Linked DNA regions of Homo sapiens: regions 2 and 3 are each linked to region 1. The links are contacts of gene promoters, found by promoter capture Hi-C in human tissues and cell types (Jung and others, 2019). All regions are on one chromosome and are shown on one strand. The core of a region is centred on a gene start or on the middle of the fragment in contact, and the rest is flanking DNA. Distances in the headings are between cores, read along the strand shown.

Evidence for each region. The method cuts DNA at HindIII sites, captures the fragments that hold promoters and counts their contacts. A contact is called where the count stands out against the background at its distance.
Region 2: a fragment that was not itself captured here is called in contact with the fragment with the promoter of ENGASE in region 1 in 4 of the 25 tissues and cell types used here (dorsolateral prefrontal cortex, lymphoblastoid cells, mesenchymal stem cells and 1 more).
Region 3: a fragment that was not itself captured here is called in contact with the fragment with the promoter of ENGASE in region 1 in 4 of the 25 tissues and cell types used here (IMR-90 fibroblasts, lymphoblastoid cells, mesendoderm cells and 1 more).

What each region holds. Positions count from the first base shown.
Region 1 is chr17:79,072,947-79,077,927 of GRCh38, reverse strand. ENGASE (endo-beta-N-acetylglucosaminidase) reads right to left here and starts at 3,104. Exons shown (of 14, transcript NM_001042573.3): 1 at 2,838-3,104; 2 at 431-498; 3 at 64-265. The coding sequence starts at 2,983. RefSeq lists a silencer at 2,703-3,242. The HindIII fragment of the contact is 14,853 bases long and covers 1-4,620 here.
Region 2 is chr17:79,463,833-79,468,813 of GRCh38, reverse strand. The region is part of intron 2 of RBFOX3 (RNA binding fox-1 homolog 3); the gene reads left to right. Among named protein-coding and RNA genes, the nearest start is that of RBFOX3, 140 kb to the left of the region's middle. The HindIII fragment of the contact is 3,575 bases long and covers 286-3,860 here.
Region 3 is chr17:79,344,517-79,349,497 of GRCh38, reverse strand. All of the region lies in intron 2 of RBFOX3 (RNA binding fox-1 homolog 3), which reads left to right. Among named protein-coding and RNA genes, the nearest start is that of RBFOX3, 260 kb to the left of the region's middle. The HindIII fragment of the contact is 5,802 bases long and covers 1-4,981 here.

The sequences.
Region 1 (4,981 bases), core at 1,855-4,354:
CCAGCCCCCACCCCAGCAAAGGAGAACAATGTAAGCAACATCAATGTAAGGCCAGGTCCTCACCTGTCATCCAGGTACCCGCCCATCATGTCATGACACAACAAAGTCCGGGGCCTCTGGCTGCTCAGAGGGGGCTGGCGACACGCCAGGGGCTCCAGGGCCACATTAAAGCCATCCTCCAAGCGGGGCTTCCACGCCAAGAGCTCCTCCAGCGAAGACAAGTAAAAGCTGATTGGTTTGGTGGTGTCCTTGTCATAATATCTAACTGGTCCGAGGACAGAAACATTGAGCAATTAATGGAAACTATTATAGGATTAATCGAAACATTTTAACAATAACAGAGAAGGAACATGAGAGGGGGCAGGGGCTGACCTGCCCCAAAGCCCCAGGTGTGAAGGTGGATCGGTATTCAGAGCCTCTGTCTCCTCACCTGGCAGGGGGTCCGGGGAAAAACTGACCACCTCTCGAAAGACTGTCTCTTCTTCTTCATCTTTGATGCTAAGCAAAGAGGGAGTTGTACATTTATAAATAAAAACATAAATAGGTAAGAACACTTAGAAGCAAATGGACCAGTTTCATCTAAACACAGAGAGATATTCTCTGCCTTATGTTGTTTAATATTAACTATAGAAACATTGTATAAAGCAAGGAAGTGCCCTGTGATAATCCTAAGGTTTTACCTATATTAGCAACCAGGGCTTGGCTTCCACATGGACACACGTACCAATGATTACTCCTAAGAATAAACCTTACCCTAGGCCAGACGCAGTGGTTCACGCCTGTAATCCCAACACTTTGGGAAGCCAAGGCAGGCGAATCACCTGAGGTCAGGAGTTAAAGACCAGCCTGGCCAACATGGCAAAACCCCATCTCTACTAATACAAAAATTAGCTGGGCATGGTGGCACACGCCTGTAATCCCAGCACCTTGGGAGGCTGAGGCAGGGAGAATCACTTGAACCTGGGAGGCGAAGGTTGCAGTGAGCCGGGACTGTGCCACTACACTCCAACTTGGGCAACAGAACGAGACTCCATCTCAAAAAAATAAATAAATAGAATAAACCTTACCCTCTAAAGCAGCCACCCCAATACCACAAAGACCAGACATAAATACTTCACAGGGTCCCCAGGATTTTCTATGGCCAAGGGGCAATATCCAAATACCCAAAGCACCAGAAAGTTTCAGGTCCTAAGAGAGCAGAGACCAGGCTTCCTCTATAGGCCACACTTCCCTAAGTGCCTTCCGCGCTGTTCATGGATGTATGTTACAGGGAGAAAGAGTTCCTTCGTTCCTTCGGTACATTAACATGGAAAGCTCCTAAATACATCTCAAACCACTTTCTTTTAAAAATTGATTGATTAATTGAGACAGAGTCTCGCTCTGTCGCCCAGGCTGGAGTAAGGTGGTGAAATCTCAGCTCACTGCAACCTCCAGTTCCTGGGTTCAAGTGAGTCTCCTGCCTCAGCCTCCCAAGTAGCTGGGATTACAGGCATCTGCCACCACGCCTGACTAATTTTGTACTTTTAGTAGAGACTGAGTTTCACCATGTTGGCCAGGCTGGTCTCAAACTCCCGAACTCAGGTGATCACACGCCTCAGCCTCCCAAGTGCTGAGATTACAGGCATAAGCCACCATGCCTGGCCTAAAAAATCATTATTATTTTAGGAGCAGTAAGAAGACACCGCAGTGGCTATTTAGAGGCCATGGCACCAACGTTGAGATTCCCTAAATCTACCAACGCCCAAGGCCACTTCTTTGTTCACTGAGTTGTCATCTGCCATCACTCCACTGCCATTCAGAGGCCTGTTGCAAAGAGTCCTCTGTAGCATCTGCCATCACCAAACACTGACCCAGGGCCTCCAGAATGACATTGGGAGACCCTGAGAACTGCAGGGGTCGGGGACGGATTCAAGCAGAGATGCCGCAGTTGTTCCTCTCCACCTTCCTTTTCCAAAGCCCCCTTCCTCGTTGATGTCCTTATTATACTTCAGCCACCCCCTCCCAGACCTTCTCAGAACAATCCCACACCAGGTCACCTTTGTCACCTGTCATTCCTCCACTAGGAGGGAAAGAGCCATCTCCACATTCCTCCTGTCCAAAAATATCTTTCCCAGCAGCCAGCCTTCATCCCATCTTCATGAGGTCTGAAATGCTCAGCAGTCTCACTGCTTTGGGTTTAGAAACAAAGCTACGGCTGCTGTTTCCGGAAGCCATGTCTGTGCTCCTAACTTCTCCCCCTGCAACCTACTGAGGGGGAGTTTACCGGGTGGGCAAGTGCCCCCCAAAGGAAGGAAGCCCAGCCCAGAGGGGCATGTTCGTCCCTTTCTGTCTCTGTGCTTTGGCCCTTTCTGTTCCCCGCCAGTTGGATACCCTACTCCCTATTCTCCACCTACTGAAGGCTTCCTCCTCCCCAAAGACTCAGTTCTAGTGTCACCCCTACAGAAGGCCACCCCTTCCACCAGCCGGCATCCACTGAGCCAGGCATGAGCACCGCCGCCGGGATCTTCCGCATAGACCAGCGACGTGGGAAGCAGGGGTCTGGCCGGGGCGTCGGGATTCCCGCTGGGCCCCGCGGCCACTCGGGTTTGCACCCGTATTTCTGAGATAGGCAGGGGTCACGCACGGGGGCCGGAGGCCGCTGCCCGGCAGTGGCGCGAGGACGGCGGGGCGGACCGGGGCGGAGGGGCGCTGCCACCCTCTGTCCCTTACTGTGCACGGAGCGGACACAGGCGCCGGCCCCCCGCCCCTCGGCGCGCCCGTGCCGGGAAACCTCGGGCCCCGGGGCCACGGACTCTCAGCCCCGCGGATCGGGGTTCACGCGGGCCCCGCAGCCCCACCTCCTTCCCGGCCGCCGCCGCCGCGGCCGCGGCTCCTGATCCTCCTGCTCCTCCTGCGTCCCCGCCTCCGGGGCCGCCAGCCCCTGCAGCTGCCGCCGCCGCCGCCGTGTAGCCGACCGGGTGACCGTCACCGCCGCGGCCTCCATGACACTGTCCGCGCACGCCGAGAGGCAATCGCAGGCCCGGGCCCGCCCCCGCGCCGCGCTCGGCCAATGGGAAGTGCGCAGCGCTGACGCCGCGCTGGGACGGGACTCCGAGCTGACTCCCGGCCAGCGGCCGCGCGGCGGGGACTTTGTTGAGGCGACAGGCCGGGGGCGGGGCCGAGGACGGGGCGGGGCTGTGAGGGGCGGGGCCTGGGCGAGTTCCGAGCCCAGGGTTCGTCGTCGTTCTTGTTGTTGCCCATCATTGGCTATGAGTCCAGGGTGCTAGAAGGCTCTAGAAGGCTTCGGAACGCCCCAATCTTAGAGTTCTCTCTTTAGCCTCACCAGCTTCCTTTGTCAAGCAAACCGAGGTTTATCCCAGAGAGATTAAGCAATCTCCCAGAGGGCACAAAGTCAGCAAATGGTGGCAATGAGATTTTAACTCATGCAGCTAACCCCTATTAAAAGATAATTTTCAGACCGGGCGCGGTGACTCACGTCTGCGATTCCAGCACTTTGGGAGGCCGAGGCGGGCGGATCACCTGAAGTCAGGAGTTCGAGACTACCCTGGCCAACATGGTGAAACCCCGTCTCTACTTAAAATACAAAAATTAGCCGGGCGTGGTGGTGCATGCCTGTAATCCCAGCTACCTGAGAGGCTGAGACTGGAGAATCGCTGGAACCCGGGAGGCAGAGGCTGCAATGAGCCGAGACGGTGCCATTGCACTCCAGCCTGGGCGACAGAGGGAGACTCCGTCTCAAAAAAAAAAAAAAAAAGATGAAAGGTTAGTAGGTTAGTATCGGGCCATGTGGAAGCTGGTGTCCTATGTAGGATGCATAGTTTTCCAGTGAAACACGGATTTCTTTCTACAGCCCCACGCCTGTGCCCAACAGTAGTAGTTGCTCTACCCCTAAGCGTGCAGGGCCTGGAGTGGCACCTCTGCAAGAGTGGCACTGCCCAGCGTCTTAGGCACAAAAGGAGTTCACAGGAAACATGATAGAACAGAGCCCTGAGAAGCCAGAACTCAAGGCTGGGCCCCACAGGGCAAACCAAGGCTCTCCTCCCTCCAGGCCCCAACGCCCCTCCACAGCTAGGAGCTTCCAGTGCTGGGCTGCAGCTGCCGCCCAAGCCAAGTTGACTGGGCCTTTATTATTGTTGCAGACTTTGAACTTTATGAGGCTCCAAGCTTCCATAAACGCCAATGGTGGGAACTATGACTAAGGTTGTTGAATATGGGCCATGGTGCAGGCCAGCCAGTTAGGCAGGAAGGACGGGCCACTCAGAAGCAGGACACGCTGACCCATGGGGAGGACAGAGAAGGCAGAGGGCTCCTCTTTGGGGCTTCAGTCCTGGGAAGCTTACAGTGAGCGAGGGCAGTGGATCCCCAAGTTCCCTCCTGCTGTGTTCAGGGGTGCACCGGACGTGGACAGTCTTGATCTGGGGTGCATGTAACCAGGTGTTCCCAAGCCCTCACCTGCAGCTTAGCAATAAAAATAGATAAACTTTCATCCTACCCAGGTTAGAACACAGTTCTAAGGGATACTTTGAACAGCCTTTGGGTAATGCTCAGTCTCTGGGAGAAAATATGCCCAAACCTCCCTTTTCTTCTCTCCTTTCCAAAGAGTAGGCACCTGGTCTAGAAGAGCAAGAAAGTGAAGGCAGCCTTGCACGCCCCTGAGGACAGAAAGGACTTAGGCCTTGTGGCCTCTTGTTAGCCCCTGTGGCTCGTGGTCTCTCTGGATGTCAGGCCAAGCCTGGAGGGGCCCTGTCTGCCTTGAGCTCACATTGGCTCATACTGGGGCTCTGGATCCGTTTGAGGCCTGAGTGGGCCCTCTAAAACCCTAACCTTCTGGTGTTTTCAGATAACATACAGAGCAATCAGTTAAATTTGAATTCCAAATAAATGATGCCTGGGACATAGGACAAGCTTATATTAAAAAGTTATTGCATATTTATCTAAAATTCAAACTGAACTAGGATGCTGTCTATGCATTTGCTAAATC
Region 2 (4,981 bases), core at 824-3,323, 390 kb before region 1:
GTCTTCCTGTCTATCTGCCATCTATCTTCCTATCTATCTATCTATCCATCCATCCATCCTCCTGTCTATCTGCCTGCCTATCTGCTATCTATCTATGCATCCATTCGTCTATCCTCCTATCTGTCTGCCTGTCTCCTATCTATCTATCCATCCATCCATTCATCCATCCATCCTTCTGTCTATCTGCCTGCCTATCTGCTATCTATCTATCCATCCATCCATCCATTCATTCATTCATCCATCCTCCTGTCTGTCTGCCTGCCTGCCTGCCTATCTGCTACCGATCTATCTACCTATGTCTGTGTATGCATCTATCTATCATCCATGTGTGTACCCGTCTATCCATTCATTTGTTGATCTATTGTCTGTCTGTTCAATCATCCATCTATGTATCTGTCTACCTACCTGTCCATCCATCCATCATCTGTCTATGCATCCATCCATCATCTGTCACCTGTCTACCTGCCTGTCTATCTGTATGTCTCTATATCCATCTGCCTATCCATCTACTCATCTATCTATTATCCATCTATGCAGGTATCCATTTATTCATGCGTCATCCCCTGTCTATCTGCCTATCTGTGTGGAACTCATTAATTTCTATCATTATTGTGAAGTTGATTTTGGAAACTTCATCCTCCTTTGGTCTTAGCGTGTGGGGTTCAGGGTGGGAAGGGCAAATGGTCAAAGTCATGTTTCCTGGCTCCACAGTCCCTCATGGTTAACCAGTCTCTCAGCTCCTAGGGCTCAGCGAACCAAACAATGCGGACAGTAAAGCTGCAAAGTGGGAAGTGAGAGGCAGGGAGGAGGCATGACGTCTGCCTCGGGTGTTGGAGAAGAACCGTCTCCTGGGTTCTCATACCTGTGGCACCTTGCAGGGAGACAGGCCATGCTCAGGAGCCACAGAGAAATCAGAGGGTCAGAGGGCGTGGTGGGAGGGGGCAAGCAGAGGAGGAGGCCAACTTCCCGGAGGCCTTGCTCAAGGTCCCTTCCTGGGAGGACTCAAAGGCCCATAGCAGAGAGAAACACTGTGATTCTGAACAAAGACCATAGTGATCCCAGGGAGGAGAGGTGCCCACTCCTGGATCCTGGCAGGAGGCAGGTGGGGCACACGTTCCAGGGACGCTGGCACTCATGGATGGAAGCCGGAGGCCCTAAGCCCCACGGAACAGGTGCTGCCCCCCACCATCTGCAGTTAGGCAGCTCAGGAGCAGAGCTGCTGGTGGCGGTAAGCCTCTCTGTCAGGCAGGCAGAGCAGGGGGTGGCCCAGGAGTGCTGGCCACAGGTGCACAGCTGGGACATGCCCCCGGGACATCAGGTGGCCTCATGTCCTCAACATCCACATGAGTTTACCTGGTACCAAGAGAGGGATCATCTTAAAAGAAGGCAAAATGTAAAAGAAATTTGGAAGCAAGGTTCTTTGAGTTTTTCCACCTTCTCTCCCTCCTCCCCGCTCTGCCCTCATCTCCACCCACTTCTTTATTTATCACTCATCCCCTGAAATCTCTGAGGAAGGCACGCTACTCTGGGGACCTAAGCCACACATCAGCCTCTCTCAAGCATCAGAGGAGAGGTTTCCATGGGAAGCAGCACGGTGTGGCTGGTGAGAGACCCTAGGACCCCCCGTCTGCAGCAGCCCGTGCCACCAGGTGTGAGGAGGGCCTCCCGGACCCAGACCTGGCAGGTGATGCCACCGCAGTCCTGAGCCATCTCGATGAGGCCATAACACATGCCCGTGGCAGTGCCAGCTCTGCACCTTATCTAGACGTGTGCAGTGCATGCATATGGCATGTGTCATGCATGTGCACAGAGGAAGCCTGTACCTGGTTCACAGACAGGGATGTCCCCATTAAGAGACCCTGTTATGATGTCATGGAGATGGCTCATGCCTGTTATGGGGTCACCTGCCAGGTCTGGGTCCAGGAGGCCCTCTTCACACCTGGTCGTGTGGGCTGCCCTAGGTGGGGAGACCTGTGGCCTCTCATCGGCTGCACTCTGTGGCTCCCCATGGAAACCTCTCCTCCAATCCCCTGAGTTTACCACTCAAACCAGTCACTGGGCCCCATAGCAACCAAGGCTGGCAACGGCGCCTGCCGCCCGGGAGAAAAATTAGCAAAATCGCTTTCTCTTGGGGAGGGTGTGTGTGTGTGGGACTTTCATTATATAATAGGCCAATGTTTCCAGCTCACTTTCTAAAAATGCAGAGGGTCCTCCAATGGGCATGCATGGCCTGAGGTCACTGTGGCATGTTATTGGTCCCTGTGGTCTCCAGAAGGGCTGCAGGTGACCCTCCCAAGGTCCCAGGGAGTAGCCTGGGTCTGTGCTCCTTGGGGAGGGCAGGGGCTCTGCAGAAAGCCAGGCAAGGAAGGAGGGAGGTTCTGCCCTCGACTCCCCAAGGGGCAAACACTCGCAGGTGCTGCCCTTCTCCATCCTGGGTCACCCACCTATCTGGGGCAGCTTTGCTTCCCTTCCACTGCCTGTGCTCGCCCCCCGCCCCCCAGGACTCTTCCTGATCACCAAGGCCTGTGGCTTTGTGATGCTCAACCAGAGAACAATCCGGGAGAGGGTGCGGGGCCTCACAAGCCTAGGGCTTCCAGGCTAGAGGAGGGAGGAGGCCGCTGGGGCCCAGTCCCACCTGACATGCTGGAGAGATCTTGTCCCCAGCCCCACGGGGTAGAAAACACAGCCCAGCAGAGGCCGGGTCTGGGACCTTGGCTTGGAGCTGCCAGGTGTCTCCACACATGCACTTTGGGCAGAGGGAGCCTCATGGGCCAGCCCTTGGATGTGGATATGGAGACGACCTCTGGGCTGGGAGATCCAGCTGGGTTGTTCCTGGGGGCCGTGGGGATGCCCAGAAGCTTTGCTCAGGGAGAGGGGAATGGGTGCAGACATCGAGGACAGATGGAGCCGGAGGAGTGGCTTTGTGGAGGCGTAGAGAGAAACATCCAGGCTAGGGAGGGATTCTGTCCAGGCGGCCTGCACTGCCCAGGCCGCGATCCCGTGCCTACTCCCTGCTGGGCGGATGAGAGGCCACCGGGGGCTGAAGCATGGCTACCTGCCGAGTGACTCCCTAACCTCACTGCTTGCTGTGGGTCCAGGGCAGGCCCCGACGGGAGCCCTCCAGGCCAGAAGCTGGCCACGGGGCTGCTCCTCCGAGGCTGAGGCAAAGCTTAGGCTAGTTAACATGCAGGGAGTGTTGCACTTGGAGAAATTTAGATGTATTTTTTTTTTTTTTGTGCATGTGTGCTTGCATGTAAATGTGGGTAGGTGCTGTCCTGATTGATGGCAATTAGCATTTTCTAACGGGAACAGATGTTCAGATTGCCAGGAGGCTGGTACCTAACGCCCACGCTGCCATCTGTTCGCTGGGCAGGGCCAGGGGAAGCAGCCCCGACCCGTGGCCCTCCAGTCCTCCGTGGTGTGTACTTAACAGGATTGCGTGAGATTGTTTCTGGAGGGAAGAAAAATAATAATAAAGATGTTTTCGGGATTATAAATAGTTCATGCTGTTTATTATGGGATGGAGCTTTTCTCTGACGAGCAGCTCTGGTTTCTATGTGGCCTGAACAAAGGGAGCTCTGAATGGAATGCACAATGTCAGCTCCCGTGTCGGGGTGAGGGGAGGCCGCCTCGGGAAGCCAAGGTCGTGGTGCGTTTCATCGGCTCGAGGGTCTGAGGGCCAGAGGAGGAAGACACGAGGGAGGTGGAGAGAAGTCAGAGGGTTTAACTCGGGGTTTGCAGTCCTTCACTTCCACCTCGCCTTCGGAAGGCTGAGCTCATAAACGGGAGACCCTTGGGTCCCCATGGCAGTGTGGCAGGTGGGGGCTCAGAGCTGGGGCCACCTCGTGGTTCCCCACTTGCTAACTTGCCGAGCCTCACCCTCTTCACCTGTCAAATCGGGTTAGTGACCATCCGACTTCACTGAGCTTCTGCAGGGACTGAGGACTCATTCACAACAGGGCGAGCACTGTGCCAGCACGTTGCTGGCATCTGAGCGGCTGGGGCTGGCCTGTTCTCAGCTGTCCTCGGGGCCGCGGAGGGAAGGCCCTGGCCTCAGTGTGCCTGGCACCCTGCACTTCTTTCTGTGGTCAACCAAGGTGGCTCTTACGATGCTCCCAGCAGTGGCAGAAATGTATTCTCCTTCTTTTTCTTTTTTCCTTTTTGGCTTCTTAAGGCAAAACAGTTTGTTTGTTTGCTCACTTGCTATAAAAAGAGTTGCCTCCCTTCCTCCCTTCTCCTTGCCTCCCCCCGGCGTCTGCATCACGGCACGTTCCTCCAGCAGGCAGATGTCTGCGGGGGAATCTGTCGCCTGTCCTCGGGCCGCCCCGACAGATGTACTGGGCATCCTTCCTCTGTGGGCCGAGGTGCACGTGACACCTCTGTGTCCCTGCTCCGCCTTGATGGGCATCCTCCCCAAGTTGGCGGTATTGATGGACGGCACCTTGGGCAGGCACAAAGGCCCGTCCACGTAAACATTCCCCTCTTCTCCGGGCTGTCGCTAACATTTCCCCCAACGTCTTTCTGGGAATTTTCTCTGTCCGTTGGAAGAAGCTTGAAGGAGAGGAAATCGGCCAGTCTCCTTGGTGGTGAAGGGAGAGCGAACATTTCCTGATGTGCGCCCGTTTCGCAGAGGCCTCGCCACAGAGCACGAGGAGCTGGTGCACTCCTGCGTCTTCCCATCTGGATTTCCTGGTCTGGGTCCAGCAAAGCAGCAGTCAAGTTCCCCATCATTGGTGGTTGCCAAGGGCTTACGGTTAAGCCCAGGAGGAGTTTGTTTTTGCAGAGCAGCCCTAGGAAAGCTGTCACGGCTGCTACCAATGGTGGTGGAGGTGGCAGTGGCAGTGGCGATGGTGGTGGAGGTGGCAGTGGCGATGGTGGGGAGGTGGCAGTGGCAATGGTGGTGGTGGTGGCAGTGGTGATGGCGATGGTGGTGGCAGTGGCAGTGGCGATGGGGAGGTGGCAGTGGCAATGGTGGTGGTGG
Region 3 (4,981 bases), core at 1,255-3,754, 270 kb before region 1:
CAATAGGGACCGGGAGGGTGAGTAGGAGTTGGGAGAAGGAGGAGAAGGTGGGAGAAGTGAGGAGGAGAGTGAGAGGTGACAGACAGAAGCAGGAGCAATAGCAGTGGCCCCCGGGAGGCAGGATCTCAGCAAATGAGAGTGACCCCAGACCCAGCAAGGCTGTGTGGCTGAGTGGGCAGAGGAGTGCGAGTGGTGAGAGGTGGGAGGAGAGGGTGCAGGCAGGACTGTGCCTGGCCCCGCAGCCCACAGCTCAGTGGAAGGCACGTGCAGGGGCTGAGCAGGGATAGGTCTGGCTGCTCGGTGAGGGTGAAGCAGGGACTCCAAGCAGGAAACTTGCATGGTTGGGGCAGGAGATGATGGAGCGCCAGGCGTGGGGATGGGGAAGGAGCCAAGAAATGGGTACATTTTGGAGACAGAACTTACTGGACTTGGCAGTGAGTTGAATTTGTGGGAAGAGGGAGAGATAGAGGCACAGCTGGCTTTCAGAGGGGATGTAGCTAATAAGGTGCCTGGAGGGATTGTTTACCCACATGAAGGATGCAGAGGGAAGAGCAGGGTTTCTCGGAGAGTGGAGATGTCGGGAGATCTGCTTGGACACATTATGATTGAAAAAGTGGGTTTAGGCCGGGGGTGGTGGCTCATGTCTGTAATACCAGCACTTTGGGAGGCCGAGGTGGATCACCTGAGGTCAGGAGTTGGAGACCAACCTGGCCAACATGGTGAAACCCCGTCCCTACTAAAAATACAAAATTAGCCGGGCATGGTGGGGCATACCTGTAAGCCCAGCTACTTGAGAAGCTGAGGCAGGAGAATCACTTGAACCCAGGAGGCGGAGGTTGCAGTGAGCCGAGATGGCACTACTGCACTCCAGCCTGTTTAAAAAGAGTGAAACTCTGTCTCAAAAAAAAAAAAAAAAAAAAAAAAAAGGAAAAGAAAAGAAATTGGGTTTGTTCTGATGGTAACCAGCAAGACCACTAGCTCCTTGCTCCAAACTCACCCCTAGGGGAAGAATAGAGTGAAACCAATGAGACAGCAGATGGAGGGGGTGAGGGGTTTCAAATCATTGTGCATGGGGCTATGGCTTTGGCCTGGAGCAGGGGTGGGCCAAACACAGCTATGGGAGAATAAGCGTGAAGGGGAATGTTTGATGTCTGTTCTTACTTAGCCCAGCTCCAGCCACTATTGCCTTGGGACAAACCATGCCTGTCTATACCTGTGGCTATGCAGGGCTCAGGTGCAGGTGTTAATACAGCACAGCAGCAGAGGGACCTGTGCTCACAGGGAGCCAAGCAAAACAGGTGCAGCCCACCTGACCCCAGCAGTCACTTCCCCGCTTTTCTGCAGACGACCAGGAGACTGCACTATTTCAGGCTTGGGGAGGTCCCTCTGAATGCCGCATCTCTCAGGAGGGGGAAGGTGAAGCTCTGATCTAAGGAGGAATTTGGTGGAGTGGATGGGGTTGACTGTGATTTTTTGGAGCCTCTCCACTTGGAGTACATTCACCCACCGCTCTCTGAGATCACTCAGGCTTACTGGGCTACCCACCTCTCAGACAGGGCAGGGCAGAGTAGCAGACTTCCACTGGAGGGAATGAGCTGGCAGGCAAAATAACAAGGTATTCGAGAAGCACAAGCATTTTTTTTAAGGCAACAAACTGAGTTACAGCTTCCAGATTCTATCAGAATAGAAATACCAGAACAGAGGGACCAATTTTAAAAATAAGCTTAATAAACCTCCTAAATGAGATAAGGGACATATTAGCAATGTGAAATAAGATCAAGAAGATATACAAAGGAACCGAGTAGAAATTGTTGGTGTTAAGGTATAGCTGTGGAAATAATGCGATACAGGAGAAAAGTACTAGAATAAATAACTGAGGAATGCATTTGTGAATTGGAGGACCAGCTTGATGTATCAGCCAAGAAAAAAATAAGGAAAAGCACAAAGAAAAAGAAAATAGAAAAGTTCTAACACAAGGAGGAAAGAAGTTAAGGTGCTAATGTTAAGTTGTTAACATGTGGATCATAGAAGTCCTACAAAGAGAGAAAAATAAAAATATAGAAGAGGACATATATGAAGAAAATGTGGAGATAAAATCAATGGGATTTAAAGAAAAAGGATGAAAGAGCCCAGGTTGAAGAGGTCTTGGAGTCCCAAAAAGAAGAGATAAGAGGGAAACAAAACCTATACACTTACAGTGAAATTTAAGAATAACAAAGATAAAGTTCTTAATGTTTCCAGACAGGAAGAGATCACACACAAAGAGCAAGTTATTATACAGACTTCAGGATTTTCAACAGCTATGCCAGATGCAGGAAGACAATGGAGTGATATATTCAAAGCACAGAATAAAAGAACATAGAACATAGACTTTTACATGCAGCCAAATTGTCATTCAGATGTGAAAGCTAGTAAAACTTCCATTCTCCTATGCAGTGCAACAAAGAGAGAAAAAGAAGCTAGATGTGTAAGGATTGGAAAGAACAAAAAATTGTATTATTTTCAGATGATATGATCATTTACATAGAACCCTTGCCCAAATCTACACAAAATCTTTTAGAAACTGGAGAGTATAGCAAGTTATCTGGCATAAGTTTAACTCAGTTTTTATCTACATACCAGCAGCAAACACACACAAATAGAAGACATTGTTTTTAGTAGTATCAGAAAATGTCAAATACCTAGGAATAAATTTAATTTTAATTTAATTTTAAAATGCTTAAGACTTATACAGGCAAAATGTACAACTTTATGAAGTGTAAGTAGAGGAGTTCTAATAAATGAATAGGAAGTTTTTATATCATTAAAATGTCATTTTCCCCATGTTGATCTATATTGACTACAGCCAATGCAATTCTGATTAATTCCCAATTGGAGCCTCATCAAATGACGATATAGAAGATTAAGACACCAAAAATTAGCCAGAACCCCTCTGAGGAGCAGAGCATGAAGGAGATACTTCTCCTATCGCATATCTGGGCTCATTGTGAAGCTATGGTAATTAAGATTACCTAGTGTTGTCATAAGGATCAACCAATTAATCAATTCCCAGGATTCCCAGAAACAGATCCATGAACTTATGTAACTTTGGTTATGTTAGAGGTAGCATTTCAAATCACTGGCAAAAGGCAGGGATGTTTAACAAAGTGAGCTGGAAAAAAAAATTGTGTAGTTACCCATATACAAAGTACACTATTAGATCTCTACCTCACACCATATTTTGAAAATGGACATAGGTGGATGAAGTAGTTAAATGTCAAAAATCTCTTAGAGGAGGCCAGGCATGGTGGCTCACACCTGTAATCCTAGCACTTTGGGAGGCTGAGGTGGGTGGATCACCTGAGGTCAGGAGTTCGAGACCAGCCTGGCCAACATGATGGAACCCTCATCTCTACTAAAAATGCAAAAAATTAGCCAGGTATGGTGGTGTGTGCTTGTAATCCCAGCTACTTGGGAGGCTAAGGCAGGAGAATTGCTTGAACCCGGGAGGTGCAGATTGCAGTGAGCCAAGATCACACCACTGCATTCCAGCCTGGGTGAAAGACTCCATCTCAAAAAAACAAAACAAACAAACAAACAAAAAACAAATCTCATAGAGGAAAATGTCTTAAACAAGACACATCAAATGAGTATAAAAAAAGATTGACAGACTTGAGTACATTAAAGTTAAGAAAAAATAAGTGCTTTTTAATTCAATATATTGAATGGTTTAGAAAAAGTGAAGTCTTTAAGAAGTGAAAAGACTAGAAGAAAATATTGGCAATACACACAACTGACAAAAGATTAGTATCAAAAATGTTTAAATAACTGAAAATCAAGAAGAAAAGTATAAAACATCCCAAAAGAGAAAAAAGCAGAGGACAGGCAGGAATTTCATACAGAAGAGAATATATAATCAATAAACATAAAAAGAGATGTTTAACCTCACTAATCAGCTGGGAAATGCAAATCTAGACCACAATGAGTAGCGTTTAACTTCCATTTGATTGGCAAGACTTTCAAAGCCTGACAAATCCAAGTTTCAGAAAATATAATGATCATCAGGCTTCTTATTCATAAGAAGGACAGCATAAATTGGTTCAATCCCTTTATGAACAGAGCAATAAAACTGATAAACTTCTATCTAGCAAGACCAACAAGGATAAACAAAAGACAAATTACCAATCTCAGTAATGAAGCAGGGGACATCACTACAGACCCTGCAGCCATTAGAAGGATAATAAGGGAATACTACAGGCAACTCTATGCACGTAAATGTCACAATTTAGGTAAAATGGATCAATTCTTCAAACAAAACAAACCAAAACAAACAGGTGGAGAAGAGAAGCTCTCAGGAACACTGCTGTTGAAGAAGACAGTTAGAATTGTCCTCTGAAGAACTCCAGCATTTAGAGTTCAGCAAAAACAACAGAGAATAATCAGCCCTACAGGCAGAGAACAGTCAGCAGTTTAGTGTCACAAAACCAAAGAAAAACTTGTTTCCAGAAGGAAGGTAGGAGTGGTCAAGTATGGTCTGAGGACAGGCAAGTGACTTCATCCTCTGAGTTTTGCAGTCAGAGGGTCAAATGTGACCTTGATAAGAGAGTTTTGATGAAGTGGTGTGGACAGAGGCAGATTGGGGTGGGTTGAAAAGCAAACAGATGGCCGGGCGTGGTGGCTCATGCCTGTAATCCCAGCACTTTGGGAGGCTGAAGTGGGTGGATCACCTGAGATCAGGAGTTTGAGACCAGCCTGGCCAACATGGTGAAAACTTCACCTCTACTAAAAATCCAAAAATTAGCCAGGCATGGTGGCATGCACCTGTAATCCCAGGTACTTGGGGGGCTGAGGCACAAGAATCGCTTGAACTTGGGAGGTGGAAGTTGCAGTGAGCCAAGATTGTGCCACCGCACTCCAGCCTGGGCAATGGAGTGAGACTCCGTCTTCTAAATAAATAAATAAATAAATAAATAAATAATCAAACAAAGTGACAACATGAATC